Regions from separate parts of the Homo sapiens genome. Here regions 1 and 2 are each linked to region 3. The links are contacts of gene promoters, found by promoter capture Hi-C in blood cells and fetal thymus (Javierre and others, 2016). All regions are on one chromosome and are shown on one strand. Each heading gives the region's core, a stretch centred on a gene start or on the middle of the fragment in contact. The rest is flanking DNA. Distances are from core to core; before and after follow the strand shown.

What was found. Contacts are between HindIII fragments. The CHiCAGO score rates a contact against its expected background, and 5 or more counts as called.
Region 1: a contact is called between a fragment that was not itself captured here and the fragment with the promoter of GAL3ST4 in region 3, in 11 of 17 cell types (activated CD4 T cells, total B cells, naive B cells and 8 more). The highest score is 9.2, in activated CD4 T cells.
Region 2: a contact is called between a fragment that was not itself captured here and the fragment with the promoter of GAL3ST4 in region 3, in 3 of 17 cell types (activated CD4 T cells, total CD4 T cells and naive CD8 T cells). The highest score is 7.4, in activated CD4 T cells.

The regions. Positions count from the first base shown.
Region 1 is chr7:100,439,398-100,442,731 of GRCh38, reverse strand. PPP1R35-AS1 (PPP1R35 antisense RNA 1) reads right to left here. Exons shown (of 3, transcript NR_187540.1): 3 at 2,855-2,998. Among named protein-coding and RNA genes, the nearest start is that of PPP1R35-AS1, 4.4 kb to the right of the region's middle. The HindIII fragment of the contact is 6,057 bases long and covers 1-3,334 here.
Region 2 is chr7:100,542,403-100,545,323 of GRCh38, reverse strand. The region is part of intron 1 of AGFG2 (ArfGAP with FG repeats 2); the gene reads right to left. LOC124901708 (a long non-coding RNA gene) reads left to right here. Exons shown (of 2, transcript XR_007060453.1): 2 at 1,692-1,857. Among named protein-coding and RNA genes, the nearest start is that of AGFG2, 4.7 kb to the right of the region's middle. The HindIII fragment of the contact is 5,846 bases long and covers 1-2,921 here.
Region 3 is chr7:100,166,807-100,170,076 of GRCh38, reverse strand. GAL3ST4 (galactose-3-O-sulfotransferase 4) reads left to right here and starts at 1,460. Exons shown (of 4, transcript NM_024637.5): 1 at 1,460-1,531; 2 at 2,794-3,106. The coding sequence starts at 2,982. It overlaps GPC2 (glypican 2), which reads left to right. Exons shown (of 10, transcript NM_152742.3): 10 at 1-471. The HindIII fragment of the contact is 24,826 bases long and covers 1-3,270 here.

The DNA.
Region 1 (3,334 bases), core at 168-2,667, 270 kb before region 3:
TCTGGGCTCACTGCAACCTCCACCTCCTGGGTTCAAGCAATCCTCCCACCTCAGCCTCCCAAGTAACTGGGATTACAGGCCTGGGCTACCACATACGGGTAATTTTTATATTTTTAGTAGAGACGGGGTTTCAGCATGTTGGCCAGGCTGGTCTTGAACTCCTGACCTCAAGTGATCCATCTGCTTGGGCCTCCCAAAGTGCTGGGATTATAGGCGTGAGCCACAACACCCAGCTTGGATTATGGACAAATTCTTTTGAATGAGACTCTGTCCCCTGCCTCCAACTTTTCTGCATCCCAGCAGCTGGCATCATCCCATGTCCCAGAGACTTCACACATACCTAATGGGGCTCATCTCAACCCTCCTGTTCCTCAGCCTGATGCTGGGGAGGCCAGGCTCAGGGTCAGTGTGTTGGCCTGCAGCCCGATGTGTGCCCTCCTCCCTGGATCTCTTCCTTCTGGGTTGGGACGAAGGCGTGAAGGTGGTTTGGAGTCATGAGTTCAGGCTGAGACACCTCAGACCTACCTGACCTGCTGGGGGATTCACCCTGCCAGCCTCCGAGATGCAGTAGGATGAGAACACGCACTCTGGGGATAGGAGCCTGGATGTGTGTGTGTCTGGAGGTTGGCCATTCCCATCTTCCAGCGTGTCTCGTGTGACAGGGACCAGTGTGGAAGTGTCTCTGGGTTGGCCCTTAGGCATAGGCCAGTTTGAGAATAGGAGACAGGAGGTGAGAGGTCGCCATAGGTGGGGTTTGCAGAGGGTGGTATTAGAGCTTTGCTGTCTCTCTGATCTTTCTTGGCCCTATTTGGGGGTGACTTCCAGGATGACGCCCTTGCTCCTCCCCCACCCCCAACCCTGGCAGGTCTTCCCATGTGTCCTCTGTAGCAGTCTCAGCCACACCGTGCAGTGGACCACTGCATTGGAGGCATCCTACCTCTTCTTAAGGACATGGTCCCTTCAAGGACCCTGGATGCTGACCTGTCTCCTGTCCCACCTAGCCCACCTATAGCACCTGGCTCAGCAGAAGCTCATGGATGACCTTGAATGACCCCTTCCAGCACTGAGACTTGCTTTCTTCAAACTAGCATCCAGGTCTAGGATTACCCCACTCAGCAGCCTCAGATAACTAAAGGAGCATCTCTAACTGGTGAGGTCTAACCCAATCAAAAGTCTTTTTTTTTTTTTTTTTGAGACGGAGTCTCGCTCTGTTGCCCAGGCTGGAGTGCAGTGGTGCGATCTCGGCTCACTGCAAGCTCCGACTCCCAGGTTCACGCCATACTCCTGCCTCAGCCTACTGAGTAGCTGGGACTAGAGGCGCATGCCACCACACCCGGCTAATTTTTTGTATTTTTAGTAGAGACAGGGTTTCACCGTGTTAGCCAGGATGGTGTTAATCTCCTGACCTCGTGATCCGCCCGCCTCGGCCTCCCAAAGTGCTGGGATTACAGGCGTGAGCCACAGCACCCAGCCCAAAAGCCTTATAATAAATAATATTTAAGAGATGGGTGTTGCTCTGTCGCCAAGGCTGGAGTGCAGTGGCGTGATCATAGCTCACTGCAGCCTCGAAGTCCTGGGCTCAAGGGATCCTCCCACCTCAACCTCCCCGGTACCTGGGACTACAGGAATACACCACCACGCCTGGCTAATTTTTAATTTTTTTATAGAGACTGGGTCTCACTATGTTGCCCAGGCTGGTCTTGAACTCCTGGCCTCACAGGGATCCTCCTGCCTCTGCCTCCCAAAGTGCTGGAATTACAGGCATGAGTCACGGTGTCCCAGCCATTTTTTTTTTTTTTTTTTTTTTTTGAGACAGAGTCTCACGCTGTTGCCCAGGCTGGAGTGCAGTGGTGCCATCTTGGCTCACTGCAACCTCCCCCTCTCAGGTTCAAGTGATTCTCATGCCTCAGCCTCCCGAGTAGCTGAAATTACAGGCATGTGCTGCCATGCCCAGGTAATTTTTTGTAGTTTTAGTAGAGAAAGGGTTTCACTGTGTTGCCCAGGTTGGTCTCGAACTCCTGGCCTCAAGTGATCTGCCTGCCTTGGCCTCCCAAAATGCTGGAATTATAGGCATGAACCACCATGCCCTGTCCTCCTCCCCATTTTTTTTTTTTTTTTTTTTGAGACCGAGTCTCGCTCTGTCACCCAGGCTGGAGGGCAGCAGCACAATCTCAGCTTACTGCAACCTCTGCCTCCCCGGTTCAAGCAATTCTTCTGCCTCAGCCTCCTGAGTAGCTGGGACTACAGATGAGTGCTACCACGCCCAGCTAATTTTTTGTCCCCTTTTCTTTTGAAGAGGAAAAGCAATTCCTGGCCTCCCAGCCTGGGCCAGCCAAAATAGCTTAGGAAGAATGTGGGCAGGCCCAAGACCTCTCACCTCCCTCACCTCCACCTTCCGATCTTCACACTCGTACTGTTTTTTTTTTTTTAATTATTATTATTATTATTATTATTTTGAGACAGAGTTTTGCTCTTGTTGCCCAGGCTGGAATGTAATGGCACGATCTCTGGCTCACTGCAACCTCCGCCTCCCAGCTTCAGGCAATTCTGCCTCAGCCTCCTGAGTAGCTGGGATTACAAGCATGCACCACCACACCCGGCTAATTTTGTATTTTTAGTAGAAATGGGGTTTCTCCATGTTGGTCAGGCTGATCTCAAACTCCCAACCTCAGGTGATCTGCCTGCCTCGGCCTCCCAAAGTGCTGGGATTACAGGCGTGAGCCACCGCGCCAGGCCCTGTTTTCTTAAAATCATTGGTGAACATTCCACTTCTTGGAGACCCGCAATGTAAACTGGGCAAACAGAATGGCTTGTTTTCGTCTGTGCTGGGGCCTGAAATGAGTCAGTGACTAGATTTTAAGGCTGAGGAATTGCGTTTACTGGGTTCATGGACACGAACTCCTGTAGGGCCTAGATATTTATCAGCATGGCCAAGGCCTGGGGGACAGTTTCGAGTCTCAGCTCCAACACTTCCTGCATGCCAAAACTGCGTCAGCCTCTTTTTTTAAATAAACAAAAAACGTTTAGTCACAGAAATGTTCAAGAATATGCAAAAGTAGAGAAAATATAGTAATAAAATCCTGCTTCAGCAGTCATCAACATTTGGCTAATCTTGTTTTATCCATGTACCCTCAAATACTGTTCCGAACCCCAACTTTTTTTTTTCTTGTGACAGGGTCTCACTCTGTCATCCAGGCTGGAGTGCAGTGGCGAGATCCTGGCTCACTGCAACCGCCGCCTCCTGGGTTCAAGTGATTCTCATGCCTCAGCCTCCTGAGTAGCTGGGACTATGGGACTACAGGCACGTGCTACCATGCCTGGCTAATTTTTTGTA
Region 2 (2,921 bases), core at 120-2,619, 380 kb before region 3:
CCTCATGCTGGCCCATATTTTTGCTTCTATCTTGCTTCATAAAAGCATCAAACCTGCTCAGCTGCTCAGATAAGAAAGTTCTGCCAGGTCAACAATGGAAAAAAACCAGTTCCACCCAGCACCCAAGTTCTTTTTCATTTGTGCCAAATTTGGACTTGGGAAATCCTTGCCTTTGAACAATTGTGTTCAGATTCATACACCCCAGATCGTGTTTCTTTGCTCTGGGATTTCACTCCTCTGCTTCTGAACAGGATACAACTAAACCAGTTTAGCTCTTATCTTGGATGCAAACATCACCATGAAGAGTCCCTGTTAGGAACTTTTAATAGTCCCTAAGAGGAAGGCTCTCCTATTACCCTGCTCCAGGGTCAATTTCACTAATTTTAGGAACCCTCTTCCTGATCTAAATTCTGCTTCAACCCATTTCCTTTGTTCCTCCTCAGCAGCAATGATAAACAGCTGTCCTGTTGATTAGAGCCAGGTAGACTCCTGATAGCATCCAGCCGCCCTTCCCTTTAGGCTCAACCTCAATCTTTTTTACATGTCTCCCTCTGCCCTCACCTCTCTCATCCCCACCCCCCCGCCCACCACCCCACGTCGAGCTTTTTCTCATCCCTTTAGTAATTTATCACTTCCTTCGGGGCTTTTCAAGTGGTTCATGCACCCCTTATGAAACAGCACCTACATCTGTAATTTAGTGAGAGACTCTGTCCACCTCTGCCCAGCAGAGGTCAACATGAAAGGTGACAGAGGAGGGGATGGAGGGATGGGACTAAAACAGGGGCAAGGTACATGTGTACCTCTCCAACCCAGACAGATGGAAAAGTACTGAATTATTGAAGAACATACTGTACCTTTCCTCCCATGGAGATTAAAATGCTTCAACTAAGAACCACCAGCAAGCCCGACAGGGAAAGTAAGGCACAAGGAGGGCAGGAACTTGTCACAAATAAAGAGCTGTCAAGTGCATTCTTGACACCCAGCCCAGAGCTCTGCCCACCTTAATTCTGACTCCTGTGATCACAGTAAAGTTGGGCAGAAATAGAAGAGATAAGTGTCTATTACAAACACCTGAAGAACGATGGATTGAAGATGGACCCAAACAGCCACATCAAGGAAATATGTCATACTTTGCTGAAAAAACTGGGTGTCAAAGTTAGCGTCCATCCTTGTGTCAATGAGATCTCAGGCCTCAACATCCATTTTCTTTCTGAGGAACAGTGGTTCATTCACAGACGCATTCAGGCAAACCAGAACAAGAAAGAACATTTAAAGCACTGCTTTGCAAATAGATGCTTTTTAGCAGCAATTTTTACCACGTCTTAAGATTCAAATGACAGATTCATCCTCCAAGAATTAGAAATGTAACTAAACAAACAAGCATATGTGTATGTTGGGGAAATTAAACAGATCCACATCTAGGTTAAGGAAATTAGGTACTGGAAGAAAACCAAATGAATAAAACTAGGTCAGGTGTGGGACCTACAATTGTGGCAGTATGTATGTAAATTTAGGAACAGCAGAAACTAGCAGCCTTTCTCTCAACCCCTCACACCAACGCTGTAGGTTTTTGCTACAGCTGAGAAAATATTTCTCATTAAAAAAGAGAGAACAAGAATGAGTTCATACATGCAGGGATGCAGGCAGAGTCATACCCACCCACCAATATTAAAATGTGTGTTTTTCTTCAGATCTTAGGAAATTCAACTTTGGCTGGAACCATCAACTTTGCTACATCGGCCAATCCAACCAGCTGGGAATTCTAGTAATTTTGCTCACTGCCCCCAGACGACTCTATCCCCTTATGAAGGAGACATATTTGTAACCCACTGAACAGAAAACTGGCCTTTAAAATAATGTCATCCTGCTGTCTCCTTTCTGTGGCTACGGTGCTAATGTGGTATTTCAATTTCTTCCCTCAATATCCTCTTCATTTTAACAAAGAATATTTCTTCTCGAGGCCAGGCACAGTGGCTCACGCCTGTAATCCCAGCACTTTGGGAGGCCAAGGCAGGTGGATCACCTGAGGTCAGGAGTTTGAGACCAGCCTGGCCAACATGGTGAAACCCCGTCTCTACTAAAAATACAAAAATTAGCTGGGCGTGGTGGTGTGCACATGTAATCCCAGCTACCTGGGGAGGCTGAGGCAGGAGAATCGCTTGAAACCAGGAGGTGGAGGTTGCAGTGAGCCAAGATCGGACCACTGCACTCCAGCCTGGGCGACAGAGCGAGACTCCATCTCAAAAAAAAAAATTAATAATAATATTTCTTCTCTTTGCATCATACCTCAGTTTGGTATCACTCTAACCCACAGAGCTTCATTTTACTTCATAGCTTTTAGCAATACAGAACGATTTCTTTATAGTCCATGGCTTCCACTAGGATGTCAGCTCCGTGAAAATGGGAACTTATCACTACTGTATCTCCAGTACCTAAAACAGTGTCTGGCGCTTGATAGGCACTGAATAAGTTCGTGTTGACTGACCGAATGAATAAACATGCAGGCTGTCAGCCGACCACAATTTTCACTTCCCACCAACACCAAACCCTAATCTACAGGTAATCAATCATGGGGATTTAAGATGCTAATTGGTCTCCGTGCCACCATGGAGCCATGCCTCCAGAAATAAGCATCCCCTGCCTCACATTCTGCCTTACAGCCCACCTGCCAGCTCCCACTCCTTCCCACAGCATATCAAAGGGACACAGGTAATACTGTGTTAAGACCCCTTTACAAGGATTATATGCCTTGCCCTTGTCATGCTAATTATAGGGAAACTCCAGCTTTCTTGCAGAGTTTCTCCTGAAATTTCTCACTCTCAACATACCTTCAATTCAGCTTCATTTACTGGCCTAACCTCTTGATCTTTCATTTCACTCTCATTTCCTACTAACAAAGGGTTGGTCTAGCTTCTCATTTC
Region 3 (3,270 bases), core at 211-2,710:
CATCAGAGGTGGGTGGGTGTTCACAATATTTATTTTTTCATTTGGTAATGGGAGGGGGGCCTGGGGGTATTTATTTAGGAGGGAGTGTGGTTTCCTTAGAAGGTATAGTCTCTAGCCCTCTAAGGCTGGGGCTGGTGATCAGCCCCAACAGAGAAAATGAGGAGTTTAGAGTTGCAGCTGGGGAAGGGGTTTGAAGGAAGTTGGAAGTGGGGAGGGGTGGGGGCATCTGGTCTCAGAAATGGACCAGCTGGATGCAGGGCAGGGGACTGAGGGTGCTTGAGTAGGATGTGAGACTTCATGGGCCTGGGTTCTGTTGAGTTTTTTCAGTATCAATTTCTTAAACCAAATTTTAAAAAAAACAAGGTGGGGGGGTGCTCATCTCGTGACCTCTGCCACCCACATCCTTCACAAACTCCATGTTTCAGTGTTTGAGTCCATGTTTATTCTGCAAATAAATGGTAATGTATTGGACCCCATGTGTGGCTTCTGTGCTGTCACCATCAGTGCCTGAGCCCTGGCTCCTAGCAGAGGTCTCAGAGCCTCTGTGACTGGCTCATTTTCTGCCGGCTTTTCACTTCCCTTGGCACCTGTCCCCCAGGAGGCGGGCCTAGACAATAACCTCTGATCTCCAAATTGCCCACCCTCTGGGCCTCTGAGCATCTTCGTTTGTACAACAGGGAGAATTGTGGGGACCAAATAGAATCTGTGTGAAAAAGCACCTTGTCACCTGCAAAATGCTCTTTGAACATGAGGCTTTTTTTTTTTTTTTTTTGAGATAGAGTCTCGCTGTTGTCGCGAGGCTGGAGTGCAATGGCGCGATCTCAGTTCACTGCAACCTCCGCCTCCCCAGTTCAAATGATTCTCCTGCCTCAGCCTCCTGAGTAGCTGGGATTACAGGCGCCTGCCACCACAGTCAGCTAATTTTTGTATTTTTAGTAGAGACGGGGTTTCACCATGTTGGCCAGGCTGATCGCAAACTCCTGACCTCAAGCGATCCACCAGCCTTAGCCTCCCAAAGTGCTGGGATTACAGGCGTGAGCCACCGCACCCGGCCACGAAGCATTATTAAGGTGACCACACCACTGCCCCCTGCCTTCAGGATGGGAGGCCTTGTTCTCTGAGTGTCAGTCTCTGGCTACCTTGCCACGTCCTTGACAATGTCTGCTTTCAAATATCACTTTCTCCTTCCTTCCTTCTTTCTTTCCACCGCCTGAATGAATCTTTTGTTCTGCGGCAAGCCAAGAGAAAATGGTAGGATTGATTCCCAAGTGTGAAAGCGGGGGCGGAAGTGGTGTCTTCCAAGAGGAGTCTGGGTGCCCTGCCGAAGAGGGGAAGATGCAGCGAGGGAGAGACCTAGAACCGCGATCAAAGCTGCAGCAGCTGCTGGGGCTGGCGGCACAAAGGGAGGAGGGAGGAGCCTGGGCGCTGAGAAAGTTCTTGGGGAAAGTTGAGCTGAGCCAAGAGTCGGGCGGTGGCTGGGATGGGCGGGAGGGCCCGGCCCGATTTCCCTTGCTGCTCCCCTTGTGGCCTGGTGAGTGGGAAGTGAAACCAAGGATAGGACCAGTGGAGGGACCCTCTAATTTATGGGAGGAGACATGAGGGGTTCATGGAACCCCAGCGGGGGCAACTGGGCAGTCACCAAAGCTGGAGGGGACAGAGGGCTGGGATCTCCAATCATGGGAAGGGAGAGATGGATGGAAGGAAATGAAGAACTCTGGATAGGGGAGACGCGGCTAGACCCCAGGGGCTGTGATCAGGGAGGGAATTGGGGAGTGATGCCAGAGAGGGCAGGTCTCCGGGAGTAAAAGTGTGGCTTCTCTCTGCTTGGGGTTACCCCTGGCTCATCGGAGCAGGGAGCTGTCGGGGCTTGTTGGAGGGGCCGTGGTCCCTGATCGCGAGTTGTAATCTGAAGGGGCGGGGCTGGACTCCCGGTTGATTAGGAAGCTCGGGCTTCAGAAGGAACTCTGCAGTTAGTGTTTGCGCCTTTCTCCTTATCTTTGTGTCATAGTCTCTCTGTCCCTCTGTCTCTCTCTCTCTGTTTCTCTGTGTGTGTGTGTGTGTGTGTGTGTGTCTCTCTCTCTTTCTGTCTCCCTCTCCAGCCCCACCCTTTCAGTCTCCTCCGGGTGCACTGATAAGGTTGGAAAGTGGAATGGTGGGTAAGTCCAGGGATCTGGGCTTTATAAGTAGCCACACGTCTCCCCCAGCCCCTGTCATACATGGGGGTCTGCCCCGTGCTGAGACAGAGAAAAAAGAGGCGCGGGAATTTATAACCCAATGGCTCTTACCCATTGCAATGCCACTCCTGGAAGTCCAACCTCCCTTCCTCCTGCCTGGGTTCATACACCTGTGTCCTGTCTGATCCTCATTCCCACTGTATGGCTTCCCTTCCTGGTCCTGGGATAGGGCTCTTTATCCCCATCTGTGACAGCCAGAGGGGCTCTGGAGGAAACCAGGTTCCCGACCATGGTCTGACCTGACTGTGTTAATGAGCTGATTGATCTGATCTCTCTCTCTCTTGCTGGCTGTTTCATTCACGAGCTGGGGCTTTTTCTCTCCTTCCCTTATAAATCCCCAAGGCTCAGGGACAACTGTAGGTGGGGAGCGGGAGGAACTGGAGATAAGAAAGTGATAGAGCAGAGACAGTAGTTGTGGGGCCACCTAGGAGAGTCTGGGTATAGACAACATCCCCAGCCACTCCCCTTCCCTGAAGGAGGTCTCAGCTGCAGCAGGAGAGAAGGCTGCCTCTGCCTCTCTCCTTAGACTTCCCTTCTTCCCCCCTCATTTCCCTTCTAGACGCTGACAGAGGCAAAAATCTGCTAACTCAGGGGGCAGACTCAACCAAGACTGTGAGCAGGCCTGGGGAATGACCCCCCGATCTCCAACCAGTGCCTTCCGCAGCTGCACGGCTGTCTCCAGCTGTCTCTGCCCCTCTTCCTGGCCCTGGCTCCATCTCTCTGTCACCTCACCCTTCCCTGTGCCACATGGGCCCTCTCTCTCCTGCCAGGACGCTGCGGCTCTGGGGACCTCGGAGCCTGGGGGTGGCTCTGGGAGTCTTCATGACCATTGGCTTTGCACTCCAGCTCTTGGGAGGGCCCTTCCAGAGGAGGTGAGTTCCCACTTTGCCCCAACTCCTTCTAGACGCCCCGTACTTGCTCTTCCCCATCCCACCTGGGGCTGGTGACTCCTGAGGACTCAGAAGCCTCCATGCCCTCTGTCCCTTCTACCCATTTGCTGCTGAGGAACAGGACACTCCCCCTCCATCTCTTCCCA